Regions from separate parts of the Homo sapiens genome. Here regions 2 and 3 are each linked to region 1. Evidence: promoter capture Hi-C in 16 types of primary human blood cells and fetal thymus (Javierre and others, 2016). All regions are on one chromosome and are shown on one strand. The core of a region is centred on a gene start or on the middle of the fragment in contact, and the rest is flanking DNA. Distances in the headings are between cores, read along the strand shown.

Region 1 (4,570 bases), core at 1,013-3,512:
TTTGGGAGCCCAAGGTGGGTGGGTCACCAGAGGTCAGGAGTTCAAGACCAGCCTTGCCAACATGGTGAAACCCCATCTCTACTAAAAGTACAAAAAAAAAAAATAGCCAGGCATGGTGGTGGGTGCCTGTAATCCCAGCTACTCAGGTGGCTGAGGCAGGAGAATCACTTGAACCCAGGGGGTGGAGGTTGCAGTGAGCTGAGATCAAGCTACTTCACTCCAGCCTGGGCAAAAGAGCAAAACTCTGTTTCAAAAAAAAAAAAAAAAGGAGCAGCTGGGAGCTGGGGTGGATGTGAAGGAGGGAGAAGGACACCATCTAAAAGGGAGCTGAACTTGAACTTCACCTCTTTTCCAGTGACTGCTCTTCTATGCTGTCAGTTCTTCCAGACATGACCTCCCTCAACGCCCCCACATAACCTCCTTTCCCAGCATAACTAAGCCCAGTGGTTCCCATCTCCCAGTCAGACTGGCCCCTCCCACTACCCCCAACCCACAGTTTAACTTCTGAGCCTGGAAGTTAAACTCCCATTCAGTGGGAGGGTGAGGAAGCTAGCACAGGGAAATTCTAACATCAAGTAGTAGAAATGAAGTATCCTGCCTGTTTAAGACACCAGCCACCCACAAGCCTGCTCTACTCTGTGCAAAATACACCCAACTCTGAGATTAATTTTTCCATTCTCAGCAGGTAAACCTTTACAAAAATCTTAAGGATCACCTTAGGCAATCACTTTTAGGAAGTTGTAGACTTTTCTGAAATTGGTAACATGTGTGGACTTTTTCCCTAAGAAAACTTAGGAGATGTATGCAATTTTAAGAGGTTCATACACCTTCTGAGAATCACTGTTTAAGAACTTCTGGTCTATTCAGAATGACACCTGATATATAGTAGATGCTATCATTTGTTGAATGAATGAACCAATTAATTCATCTCCTAAGTAAAGAAGGGAACCCACACTTGTTGAGGGCCTATATAGGACCATGAACTGGGGACACAAACTCAACCTCACGATAGCACTGATGAGGCATGTTCTACTAAGCTCATTTTACAGTGAGGAAAGAGAGGACCAGCCGGGCACGGTGGTTCACGGCTGTAATCCCAGCACTTTGGGAGGCCGAGGCGGGCGGATCACAAGGTCAGGATTTGGAGACCAACCTGGCCAAGATGGTGAAACCCCATCTCTACTAAAAATACAAAAATTAGCCGGGTGTGGTGGCGCGCGCCTGTACTCCCAGCTACCTGGGAGGCTGAGGCAGAAGAATCGCTTGAACCCGGGAGGCGGAGGTTGCAGTGAGCCGAGATCACGCCACTGCACTCCAGCCTGGGCGACAGAGTGAGACTCCGTCTAAAAAAAAAAAAAGAAAAGAAATCATATTCTCAACGTTGGAATCGGCCTCCCAGTTGCAAATCCCACCACAATACAACAGCAATTACAACTCTCAACTACAATTATGTTTGCATAGAGCTTCACGGTTTACAAAGCCCAGGTTACGTTTTGCAATTATCCTGTTTCACAGATTAAGAAGTTGAACTGAGGCCGGGCGCAGTGGCTCACGTCTATAATCCCAGCACTTTGGGAGGCGGGGGCGGGAGGATCACGAGGTCAGGAGTTCGAGACCAGCCTGGCCAACATGGTGAAACCCTGTCTCTACTAAAAATACAAAAATTAGCCGGGCGTGGTGGCGGACGCCTGTAATCCCAGCTACTCAGGAGGCTGAGGCAGGAGAATCGCTTGAATCCGGGAGGCGGAGGTTGCAGTGAACCGAGACTCCAGCCTGGGCAATAAGAGTGAAACTCCGTCTTAAAAAAATAAATAAGTTGAACTGAAAGCGTGGCCTAATAAGTGGCAAGGAGGAACACTTCCCCCAAATTTCTTCTTCTTAGTGCTTTGCCAGATCAGATCTGGGAGATTTCCCCCTCCCGCCGGCTTGCTGGATGACAGCGATCCGGCCTGGACTCTGCCCTGGGGAAGGCAGGAAGAAGGTAGTGAAAATGATTAAGTCCTCTTATTGCAGGCGCCAAAATGGGGCAGAAACCCTGCAGGAAGGCCAGGCCTCTGAGCCCAGTTCCACCCCCGTTCCCCTCCTCGGATCTGCTCCGGTCCTCCCCATCCGGACCCCATCCCTTCGGACGACCTGGCCAGCTCCTTTCCTTTCCCCATCCCCACCCGGGGAGACCCCGCGCCCAGCAGCTCACCGCGCTCGGGCACTGCTCCCTCTGCCACGCCTGTCAAGGCTCGGCAAACATCCGGCTCCGCGGTGGAACGGGAACCGCCCCCTCCCGCTCTCTTCTATCCCCAACCATTTCCGCCACACCTCCAACCCACTTCCGGCCCCAAACATGGCCTTTCCAGGAGCCCCGCCCACTTCCTGCACATGCCCGCCTAAGTTCCTGCCTCGGGGAGGTAACAGCATAACTGTCCGACTCGTCGCTCCCAAAGAGATGGCTGGAACAATTAGTTCCGCTTTCCCAGCTAGTCGAATCACTGGTGCACCTCCGGAATCCGAGGTTCGCATTGCTCTCGGACAGAGTTCTGCCTCCCCAGTACTCCCAAACTCCCAGTCCTGTGCACCAATGAGGTCCAGCTCTGAGGCTTCTTTCCTGAGAAAAAAATTTGGAAGTCCGTGACTGTTTCCTGGAGGAGCTGAGAAGAGGAAGCTCACTTCCGGCGTAGGGAGGCTTTCTGACCCGGAATGGAGGAGGCGGAGGAGCTGCTCTTGGAGGGGAAGAAGGCGCTGCAACTCGGTGAGTGACCTGCGATGTCCGCGACCCTCAACCTTGGCCCAGGTGGATCTGACGCTCTGTGGTCAGCTTTCTCCTCAGTCTTCTCTCCTCCGGATCCCAGGATCCTCCAGTGCCCTCAGAGTCGCTGGGGGCTTCTGAAGAGCCCTTGAGCCTCCTCAAAACTTTCAGGGCCCTCCTTAGAGCCCTCACCTGTCCCTCGGGCTCCGCAGGCCCACCTGGACCTGCGGTTTCCTCCCACACTTTTCCCCACCTCCCACCTTCTTGGGTGGCTCCCTCACTGTCTTCCCTTCTCTCTGCAGCCCGCGAGCCGCGCCTGGGCCTGGACTTAGGATGGAACCCTTCCGGAGAAGGCTGTACGCAGGGCCTCAAAGACGTCCCACCCGAGCCGACCCGAGACATCCTCGCTTTAAAGAGCCTTCCCCGGGGCTTGGCCCTTGGCCCCTCACTCGCCAAGGAACAGCGCTTGGGGGTCTGGTGTGTCGGGGACCCCCTGCAGCCCGGCCTGCTGTGGGGGCCGCTGGAAGAGGAGTCTGCCTCCAAGGAGAAGGGCGAGGGAGTAAAGCCACGGCAGGAGGAGGTATTGAAGGATAGAGCGACTTCCCTCCGCCCTTGAAAATGTAGGGGAGGTTTGGACATTGCTAGACAGCTTTTCAATTTGAAGAAAGAGAGTATTTCAAGAGATAGGAGATAGTCTTGTCCCTTCTCTTCAGGACTGTCTCCTCTCAGCAGCAGTAGTTAAAGAATCGAGGTTTGAAAAGTTGTTGAAAGCTGGAATCATACAGTGTCAGCAGTGAGTGAGGAAGGTCAAGAGCTAAGGTTTTTGGAATTAAGAAAGCATGGGATCAAATTCCAGCTTTGTCACCTAGCTGGTTAAATTACGTGCCGCATTTAATTCATCTGTGAAACAAAGCAGTGGCTCTCTTGGGATTATATGGAGGAGCTGATGAAATAGTGAAGATAAAAGGTTTCACTGCACAATAAGTACCATTTTATTTTATTTATTTTTCTTTTTTCTTAGACAGTCTTGCTTTGTCGCCCAGGCTGGAGTGCAGTGGCACGATCTCGCCTTATTGCAACCTCCACTTCCCAGGTTCAAGTGATTCTCATGCCTCAGCCTCCCGAGTAGCTGGGATTACAGATGTGCACCACCACACCCAGCTAATTTTTGTATTTTTAGTAGAGACAGGGTTTCACCATGTTGGTGAGGCTGGTCTCAAACTCCTGGCCTCAAGTAATCCGCCTGCCTGGGCCTCCCAAAGTGCTGAGATTACAGGTGTGAGCCCCCGCGCCTGGCCCAATAAATACCATTTTAAAAAGCTGGTGTTCCTTATTACTTTTTCTGTTTAGTACTCACTGGAAGACAGTAATGTGTTCAATTTAGTAATTCTCCATACCCTTGGGAGGGAGGTGAGGAGACAGACTTTTTGGTCCTTACTGAATGAAGAATCAGACAGCACTGTCCTGTTAGAGGAGAACCAGAGGCTTCTAACCTTCCAGGAGTTTCATCTTAAATTTGTCCCAGGAAAGTTTCATCTAGTTTCTTTTTTTATTCCTACCCGACCCCTCGAACACATTTGAGAAGGACTTTTGTTGGTTTATTTCAGAACCTGTCATTAGGCCCATGGGGAGACGTGTGTGCCTGTGAGCAGAGTTCTGGCTGGACTAGGTAAGTCAGAGGAGAGTGTGTCGTTCCTTTGAGGTTTTCTGTTGTGGTTTGGGATGGAACCCGGTGCTGACTGTCATTTCCTATTCAGTGCTCTTTTGCAGTGAATGTTCCAAAGGCACGGCGTCCTTTAGGACCCAGACTGCTTGGGGACTGGGGCTTTC
Region 2 (4,570 bases), core at 99-2,598, 880 kb after region 1:
GTCTCCCAGGTTCAAGCGATTCCCCTGCCTCAGCCCCTTGAGTAGCTGGGACTACAGGTGCATGCCACCACGCCCGGCTAATTTTTTGTATTTTTTTAGTGAAGACTGGGTTTCACCATGTTGGCCAGGATGGTCTCAATTTCCTGACCTCGTGATCTGCCTGCCTTGGCCTCCCAAAGTGCTGGGATTACAGGCATGAGCCACCATGCCCGGCCCTTGTTTAATCTTTCTGAGCTTTCATTTTCTTACCGGGAAAATAAATATAAAGCTGTCCTTATCTTATAGAATGGTTATAAGGATCCAATGAGATAGTTCAAGTAAATTGCTTGCACACAGTGTTTTCAATACATTTAGCTATTAATATTTTACTGATTATCTACTGTTTGCCAGACTCTGGGATGGAGAGAGAAATAACATGAAGTATTTGTCCTCCAGGAGTCCCCTACACTCTAGTGAAGGAGAAAGACACCTAAACAGCTTACTGTAGTAACATATAATACAAAGGATATTAGAGGGATGCTTTAAGAAAGCAGGAGGGGCACTTGGCCCTGTCTGGGAGGCTTCTTTGAAAAGAGAGAATGTTTGTGCTGAATCTAAAATATGAGTAGGAGACCAGGTAGCCTTGTGAGATGGACCAGGGAAATATTCCTGACAAAGTGAATAGCATGAGCAAACACAGGCATGCTGACATGCTAAGCTACAGCTGTGGCCTGGGCCTTTGGAAGTAGTTGTAAGCATAGGAGAATCTTGAGGTTTTGAGGTTCAGAATAGAAGGCAGGGTCACAGGGCAGAACTCTCCCAATCAGGGACTCCCATCTCAGCCCTCCAGATCCTTCTGTTCTCCCTAGATTGTCTACAACCTGTTGTCTCTGCGCTTCAACTCACGGATCCGTGTGAAGACCTACACAGATGAGCTGACGCCCATTGAGTCTGCTGTCTCTGTGTTCAAGGCAGCCAACTGGTATGAAAGGGAGGTGAGTTACCGGATATGGTGGACCTGCCTCTGGGCCACAGTTGCAGAACTGGTTCAGACTACGGGATGCAGTGTAGCCCCTTCCCCCTGTTGTTAGTCTTGATGGATTGGCTGTTTGAGGTGGTCTCTTTCCTAGATCTGGGACATGTTTGGAGTCTTCTTTGCTAACCACCCTGATCTAAGAAGGATCCTGACAGATTATGGCTTCGAGGGACATCCTTTCCGGAAAGACTTTCCTCTATCTGGCTATGTTGAGGTAGGAGCCTTGGAACTGGGACAGCAGCCTCAGGGAGGGACTTGCAGAGAACCCAGGGGATCCCTGGGAATGGCAAGAAATACGGTCTGTGGATTGTGGTGGTTTAAGAGCATGGGCCCTGGATTCAGATCCTAGCTTCATTTTTGTAACCTGGGGCAAGTTACTTGGTTTGACTGTAACTCAGTTTTCTCATCTTAAAATGGCAATAATAATAGCACTTTAATAGATTTGTGGCTGGCATTAAATAATGTATGTGTAGGCTCACGCCTGTAATCCCAGCACTTTGGGAAGCCAAGACAGGAGGAGTGCTTGAGTCCAGGAGTTCGAGAACAGCCTAGGCAACATGGTGAAACCTCTTCTCTACAAAAAAATAGAAAAATTAACGGGGCATGGTGGTGCATTCCTGTGGTCCTGGCTGCTCAAGAGGCTGAGGTGGGAGGATCGCTTGAGCCTAGAAGGCGGAGGTTGCAGTGAGCCGAGATCACGCCACTGCTCTCCAGCCTGGGCAACAGAGTGAGACCCTGTCTCTAAATAAATAAATGATGTATGAAGCCTGCTGTATTGTAAAGGCTCAATTGATGCTGTGTGTGTGTGTGTGTGTCAGGGTCTCACTCTTGTCACCTAGGATGGAGTGCAGTGGTGCGATCATGGCTCACTGCAGTCTTGACCGCCCAGGCTCAAGTAATCCTCCCACCTCTCAGCCCTCCGAGTAGCTGGGACTACAGGCATGCACCAACATGCCCAGCAAATTTTTGTATTTTTTGTAGAGACGGGGTTTCTCCATGTTGCCCAAACTGGTCTCGAATTCCTGGGCTCAAGTCATCTGCCCGCCTCAGCTTCTCAAAAGTGCTGGGATTACAGGTGTGAGCCACCACACCTGGCCAGTGTTATCCATTATTGTAATGATCATTTTAATGATCAAGGCAGCCTTGACGACACAGTCTGTCCCTAAAACCTGAAAGTAGAGGATTATTTTACCCTGCCCTGACTCTCTGGGAAGGCAGTGACGGGGAAGACACCAGATGCTTAGCCCTCAAAAATTACCTCTGAGGTGGGACCAGTAACGTGAATAAAGAATTTCAGTGGTGCTGCAGGTTATTTGCAGGAAGATAGTGTGTAATATTATCACTCGTGAATTTTATAGCAAAGTAACTGTTTAGAAATGCAGAGATGTGGTGCTCCAGCCCTGCTCTTTTAGTTCCCAGTCACTCCTGCTGTGTTAGTGCTTTGCATGCTCCTATTTCCCTCTTGGGCTACTTCTGGGCAGGGCTATCTCCCTCGCTTCTCCCTTTCACCCCACTCCTGCTATCTGCCTCACCTGGTTTGCCTCTTCACTCTAGCACCTGATGATCCTTACCTTATCCATTTGATCCCCAAGTAACAAGAAAAGCTGTGTCAAATGTACTGCTTTAGATCTGGACTGTGAATATGCCAAGGGCACCGGGCCTGAGGTTGTGTATCTGCCAGTTTAGGTTTACTCTTTTCAGCCACCGACTACTCCCTAATCCTGGGCAAATGCTTACCATTACCTTGTAAGAGTGTGTGGGTGGGTGAGCAGTCAGTTCGGAGCTCCTGATGTGGGAGTGGTGAGCAGGGGAATCTGACTGGTGCTGGCAGGGCATGAGAGGTATCCTACATTTTGGAATCACACACTCTAGCTGGTTGGGATGTGATCTGACGGGTAACACAGGTATGGATGGAGACTTACTGACAGAGGCTGGGACAGGAGTCAGTAACCGAGAGGAATGGGCTGGGGAAGTCACCAATAGCCTTGTGAAAAGTAGGCTCCTGTGTAGCTATAATAAGGACTTCCTTAGTGCTCAAGCCTGCCTTTTGCTCCTGCAGTTACGTTATGATGATGAAGTGAAGCGGGTGGTGGCAGAGCCGGTGGAGTTGGCCCAAGAGTTCCGCAAATTTGACCTGAACAGCCCCTGGGAGGCTTTCCCAGTCTATCGCCAACCCCCGGAGAGTCTCAAGCTTGAAGCCGGAGACAAGAAGCCTGATGCCAAGTAGCTCCAGGGAACGCATGTGGATCCTAGACAGCGCCTTATCTATGATTGAGTGTCCGTGTAAATAAATTCCTACTTAGACTTACCACTTTGTGTGTGCTTGTAATGTGGAGAAGTGATGCTTTGGGGGGGACACAGGCAGGCAGGGGTGTTTCCCTGCTCTCTTAGAGAGGCACTACTAAACCAGGGAGTCTTTGATGGGTTTTTTTTTTTTTTTTTGAGACAGTGTTTCGCTCTTGTTGCCGAGGCTGGAGTACAATGGCGTGATCTCGGCTCACCACAACCTCCGCCTCCTGGGTTCAAGTAATTCTCTTGCCTCAGCCTCCCGAGTAGCTGGGATTACAGGTGTGTGCCACCACACCTGGCTAATTTTGTATTTTTAGTAAAGACGGGGTTTCTCCATATTGGTCAGGCTGTTCTTGAACTCCTGACCTCAGGTGATCTGTCTGCTTCGGCCTCCCAAAGTGCTGGAATTATAGGCGTGAGCCACTGTGACCAGCTCTTTTATGTTTTTTTGAGATGGAGTCTCGCTCTGTCACCCAGGCTGGAGTGCAGTGGTGCTGTCGCAGCTCGCTGCAACCTCCACCTCCCAGGCCCAAGCGGTTCTCCCCCCTCAGCCTCCCAAGAAGCTGGGATTACAGATGCACGCCACCACGCCCAGCTAGTTTTTATAGTTTTTGTAGAGATGGGATTTCACCATGTTGCCCAGGCTGGTCTCGAACTCCTGGCCTCAAATGATCCACACTGGCCTCCCAAAGTGCTGGGATTATAGGCGTGAGCCACCACACTCAGCCGGAGGTCTATTTTAATGGGACTAAAGAGTGTAGTTGCAGACGTGGTGGCCTGCAGGCATGGATGTATTTCTGAGAGGGATTCTGGAGCTGTAACTGAAAGTTCTCACAGTCCACAGGGTTCAGGATGGGTGTGGCATGGTAGCCAATCACTCTTGGGCTACAGGAATCTCCCTGGTTTCTGGCCTGAGCTGAGAATGGTGGGGTTCTTTTTTTCTTCTTCTTTTTTTTTTTTTTTTGAGATGGAGTTTTGCTATTGTTGCACAGGCTGGAGTGCAATGGCATGATCTTGGTTCACTGTGACCGCCGCCTCCCGGGTTCAAGCAACTCTGCCTCAGCCTCCCGAGTAGCTGGGATTACAGGCTTGCGCCACCACGCCCGGCCAATTTTGTATTTTTAGTAGAGATGGGGTTTCTCCATGTTGGTCAGGCTGGTCTCAAACTCCCGACCTCAGGTGATCTGCCCGCCTCGGCCTCCCAGAGTGCTGGGATTACAGGCGTGAGCCACCGCGCCAGGCTGGTGGGGGTTTTTTGAGACAGGG
Region 3 (4,570 bases), core at 716-3,215, 550 kb after region 1:
CTGAGCAACACAGCAAGACTCTGTCTCAAAAAAAAAAATTTTTTTTGAAGAGCTTATTCAGAGATAGTGGCTCATGAAAAGGGAGGAGGAAACTGGGGAAGGACAAGCTCAGGACAGAGCTGGGCCTTAAGAGAACAATAACAATGTCTATGGATTCTTGATACGGCTGAGGCTGACAGTGGTAATCAGAGGAACAGCTTCCCCCATTCCTGGGGTGGGGCGAAGACTCAAGGAGCAGGCACACTCACCAGTCCTCCCTGATGTGCCCTAGGAATATAGCACGACCTGGCGCAGCAGACAGGGCTCAAAAACCTCATCTTGATCAAGAAAAGACAAGCCCTCTCTACGCATGTCTTCCCCGCTGTCTTTCATCTTGGCCCTGTCTGGTTTATCATTAGATACCCCCACAACATTCTAAGCTCCATGAAGACAGAGATCATATCTGTATGGTGCACAACTGAATGCAAAGTGCTAGCACAGTCCTTGGCCTTTAATAGGTACTCAATGTCTTGGATGGAAAGCCTGTGATTTCACAGTCAGAAACCACTTTGCCAGGCCCGCCCTTAAGTCCGAATTTGGATGCTTAATCAAATTTGCCTCATCCCAGCCAAGCAGGGGCAACTCAGCTCCTAGGGCTTTGTTCCAGACAGCTCTCAGATGTCTTTTCCTGTAGTTGTGACCAAAAATACAAGAAGGAGGCCAAAGTGCCCAGCCTCAGCCTTAGGCTCCCTGAGGGCAAAAGATGAGGGCAGCATACCTTGTTCCCCTTGCCTCTGGAGCTCCCAACCTTACCTCTTGCCGGTGATAAGAGGTGTTTAGGAAGCCGTGATAGCGCTGCCGCAGGGCCTGGCCCAGTTCCCAGTGCTGTAGCATCCCCTCCTGTGGGCAAACCCAAGGGTTAAGAGGGTCTAGAGGGAAGGGGTGGCTTCAAGCCCCATGGGGTTTAGGCCCTGTTGCTTTCCAGGTTCACGCTTTGCTGGAGTCAATTAATCTGATCCCAGAAGTCTTTCATTAAGTGGCCAGTCATGCACAGCAATATCATGGGCACAGAGATTAAGGTTATGAAATCTGGTCAAAGTCAGCACCCATATGGGAAAAGGCAGTTTAGTAGGACCCCAAGTTTTGTAGACTGCTCTAGACGTCGCTCATTCTGCAGCTCATCCTGAGGAAAGGCTGGCTTCTGACCCACCTTGGTTAACTGACCAAACCCCTGGGGCCATTCTTCTTCCTGATAGGGGTCCTTGGGATATGTCTTCACTGGTGAACGGTCTCCATGGCGGTACAGCTGAGAGAATAAAATGGTTTGCCTATAGGTCAGAAGCATCCCCTTGATAGGGACCCAGAGCCTACCTTTTGCCCCATGTTAGGGAAGGAAGTCTCATTCCCTCTGGGAAGCCTACTGGCTGCAAAAGACCCCAGCTAGGAGTCAGTCACTTCTTCCAGATTCCAGAGATTCTAACTTAGCTAAGCAATGCTACTGGAGACCATAGGCAAAGCCAAGGTACAGGTAGGAAGGGAAAAGAGAAGTGAAAGCAACGTATGTGGTGGGGACAACTGGGGAAAAAAGATAACCAAAGGCTTCTTTAGGGATGAGTCTTAACCATTCAACCACTTCCCTGTCTCAAGGCAGACTCACCCCGACGTATTCGGTCATCCTGACTCCCATAAGCCAGGGCTCCAGGTCAATCCTGAATCCAGCCTCCCAACTACCCAGGCCAGTCGTCCCCTCCTAAACCAGCTGTTCCTTCCCGAGATCCTCGACCTCCACCAGCTGGCCTTTGCCCTTTTAGCTTCAGGGAAGTCTTTGGTGAGCCCATCTCTCATTACCAAGGTAACGAAGCGCAGACTCCGGGCCCGGGTGGGCGGCATCACCACCAGGTTCACGCCGAGAAGGAGCTGGAGGAGAGCCGCCCGGCTCCAGCCGGACCGCTTGCCCGCCATCACCGTTGTAATCTATGCAGCAAACAAGCTGGAACCCGCTGGGTGGCACCTGCAAGCAGCCGCCCGGACGCACCCGTAAGGACACACGCCGGAAGTGCGTTCGCCGCCATCTTACTTAGGGACCTGCTGGGGTGCGGGGAAAAGGCGCAGTCTCGGTGGGATTGCGTGCAGGAGGGTCGTGGTCTGGCTGTGGCGGAGGAGCATAAGAAGGTAACGCGACCTGGCGCGGCAGACAGGGCTCGAAGACCTCATCTTGATTAAGAAGGCCACAAATTCGCGTTTGCCTCTGCTCGGAGAAATCCCTTACCAAGGTGGCACTTGCAGTGGGCGGGACCATGTCTGGAGAACCAGCGTCCCCTCCAGGCTTGACCCCATAGCTAGATCGGGTGCAGAATTGAGGCGAGGGATGGGAAAGTAGAGGTCGCTTCTCTCCACGCCCCTGCCTTTGTGGGGAGATTGAGCCCTGGCCCTGTTCTCCAGGAGATGTTTTGCTTGGGGTGCAGGACACAGTATGTAAACAACCCTTTGGACTCCGTGTGTCCTTGAGGTTGCCCCAGTCTGGCCTACCGTTCCTGCCCTGCACAAAGCTTCAGTAGCCCTCTCACTTTCCCTTCCAGTCCTTTCCCTGTCCTCCCTCCCCTCCACTTCCAAGTTTTAGTTAATTAGAGTCAAGACGTCATGTCATGCCTCTTCCCAAAGGAGTTGGGTTGCACAGGATGTTCAGACTTTACAAACCCAAAGCACTGAATCCCTGGGGGAGGAATTTCAGACCAGTGGGGAGGTATTTTGAGGTAAGGGACAGGCGCATATCATAAAGTGGGAGTAGGTGGGGTTTCCACAGAATCAATGGCCCTCTTGGCATTGACCATTAGGATTCAGGTGCAGCCAGTTTGGCCTCAGGACTTTGTGACTCCTGTGACGGTTGCAGGTCAGATCATAGGTCCTGGGGATGCTTTGATTCAGATCTGCCTACTGGAAGCAAATCTCCTCAGATCTTTGGGAAACAAAACTGATCAGGCTTGGCCTGGGCGCCGTGGCTCACCTGTAATACCAGCACTTTGAGAGGCCGAAGCAGGCAGATCACCTGAGGTCAGGAGTTCGAGACCAGCCTGGCCAACGTGGCGAAACCCCGTCTCTACTAAAAATACAAAAAAAAAAAAATTAGCCGGGTGCAGTGGCGTGCTCCTGTAATCCCAGCTACTCTGGAGGCTGAGGCAGGAGAATCGCTTGAACTCGGAAAGCGGAGGTTGCAGTGAGCTGAGATCACGCCACTGCACTCCAGCCTGCGCGACAGAGTGAGACTGTCTCAAAACAACAACAACAAAAACCTGATTAGGCTTGGTGTGGTGGCTCACGTTTCTAATCCCAGCACTTTGGGAGGCCAGGGTGGGAAGATTGCTTGAGCCCAGGAGTTGGAGACCAGCCTGAGCAGCTTAGGAAGATCTCCTCTCTACAAAAAAAAGTTTAAAAATTAGCTGGGTGTGGTGGCACACACCTGTGGTCCTAGCTCCTCGGGAGGCTGAGGTGGGAGGATCACCTTCAGCCCAGGAGGTTGAGGCTGCAGTGAGCCATGATGGTGCAACTGCACTCCAGTCTAGATGACAGAGCAAGACTGTGTCTCAAAAAGAAGAAAAGAAAAAAAAAGATCAGGATTATCTGTCTTTATTTTGTCCTAGGACTCCAGATTCAATTATTTATATATACTTCAGGATTTAAACTTTGCTTCCAGAGTTGTCATGGAGGAGGCCAAGAAGCAAATAGAGTAAGAGCCAAAGCCTGGGTAGCCAAACAGTTCTTAACCTTCTTATTTAATCACAAGCCCCTTTATGAATCACATGAAAATTTTGCACCTCTCCTCCAGAAAAATGTTCACACATATAAACACACACATGGAATTTTGCATATAATCCCAAATGGTTCACAAAGACCATTTATTACAGGTTTCATAAATCAGCATCTCTGAATACCTGATTTAACCTAGTCCTCTTACTTTACAGCTTAGGAAACAAACCTAAAGAGAGGAAGTGACTTGCCCAAATTCACAGTTTGGGCATGGGCACAGTTTGAGAATGGATTAAAAGTCAAGTTTTGGCCGGGTGCGTGCTCACGCCTGTAATCCCGGCACTTTGGGAGGCCGAGGCGGGTGGATCACGAGGTCAGGAGATCAAGACCATCCTGGCTAACATGGTGAAACCCCATCTCTACTAAAAATACAAAAAGTTAGCCGGGTGTGGTGGCAGGTGCCGGTAGTCCCAGCTACTCAGGAGGCTGAGGCAGGAGAATGTCGTGAACCCAGCAGGCGGAGCTTGCAGTGAGCGGAGATCGTGCCACTGCACCCCAGCCTGGGCGACAGAGCAAGACTCCGTCTCAAAAAAAAAAAGTCAGGTTTTGTGATTTTCAGTTAAATAGTCTATAATGGGCTGCTTCTTGCAGGCTACTCAAACTGCATTACTAAACTGTAATTGGTGATCCCGAAATCCTTTCAATAAAGAGGTATCTGTCAAAGGAAACCTTTTCAAATTAGTTGGACTAAACGGGACCTAGGCCGGACATGGCTCACACCTGTAATCCCAGCACTTTGGGAGGACGAGGCGGGTGGATCACCTGAGGTCAGCAGTTCAAGACCAGC

What was found. The method cuts DNA at HindIII sites, captures the fragments that hold promoters and counts their contacts. A CHiCAGO score of 5 or more calls a contact.
Region 2: a contact is called between a fragment that was not itself captured here and the fragment with the promoter of ARHGAP1 in region 1, in 1 of 17 cell types (neutrophils). The highest score is 8.0, in neutrophils.
Region 3: a contact is called between the fragment with the promoter of ACP2 here and the fragment with the promoter of ARHGAP1 in region 1, in 1 of 17 cell types (total CD8 T cells). The highest score is 5.3, in total CD8 T cells.

The regions. Positions count from the first base shown.
Region 1 is chr11:46,698,357-46,702,926 of GRCh38, forward strand. It overlaps ARHGAP1 (Rho GTPase activating protein 1), which reads right to left and starts at 2,263. Exons shown (of 13, transcript NM_004308.5): 1 at 2,195-2,263. It overlaps ZNF408 (zinc finger protein 408), which reads left to right and starts at 2,675. Exons shown (of 5, transcript NM_024741.3): 1 at 2,675-2,743; 2 at 3,043-3,320; 3 at 4,348-4,409. The coding sequence starts at 2,692. RefSeq lists a silencer at 2,019-2,138 and an enhancer at 2,469-2,758. The HindIII fragment of the contact is 11,026 bases long and covers 1-4,570 here.
Region 2 is chr11:47,581,240-47,585,809 of GRCh38, forward strand. NDUFS3 (NADH:ubiquinone oxidoreductase core subunit S3) reads left to right here. Exons shown (of 7, transcript NM_004551.3): 5 at 849-974; 6 at 1,110-1,229; 7 at 3,075-3,323. The coding sequence ends at 3,242. Among named protein-coding and RNA genes, the nearest start is that of FAM180B, 3.2 kb to the right of the region's middle. The HindIII fragment of the contact is 3,712 bases long and covers 1-3,204 here.
Region 3 is chr11:47,246,849-47,251,418 of GRCh38, forward strand. It overlaps ACP2 (acid phosphatase 2, lysosomal), which reads right to left and starts at 1,966. Exons shown (of 11, transcript NM_001610.4): 1 at 1,828-1,966; 2 at 1,190-1,285; 3 at 793-879. The coding sequence starts at 1,941. It also overlaps a transcript of NR1H3 not described here. RefSeq lists enhancers at 1,432-1,521, 1,652-2,161 and a silencer at 2,242-2,409. The HindIII fragment of the contact is 7,782 bases long and covers 1-2,526 here.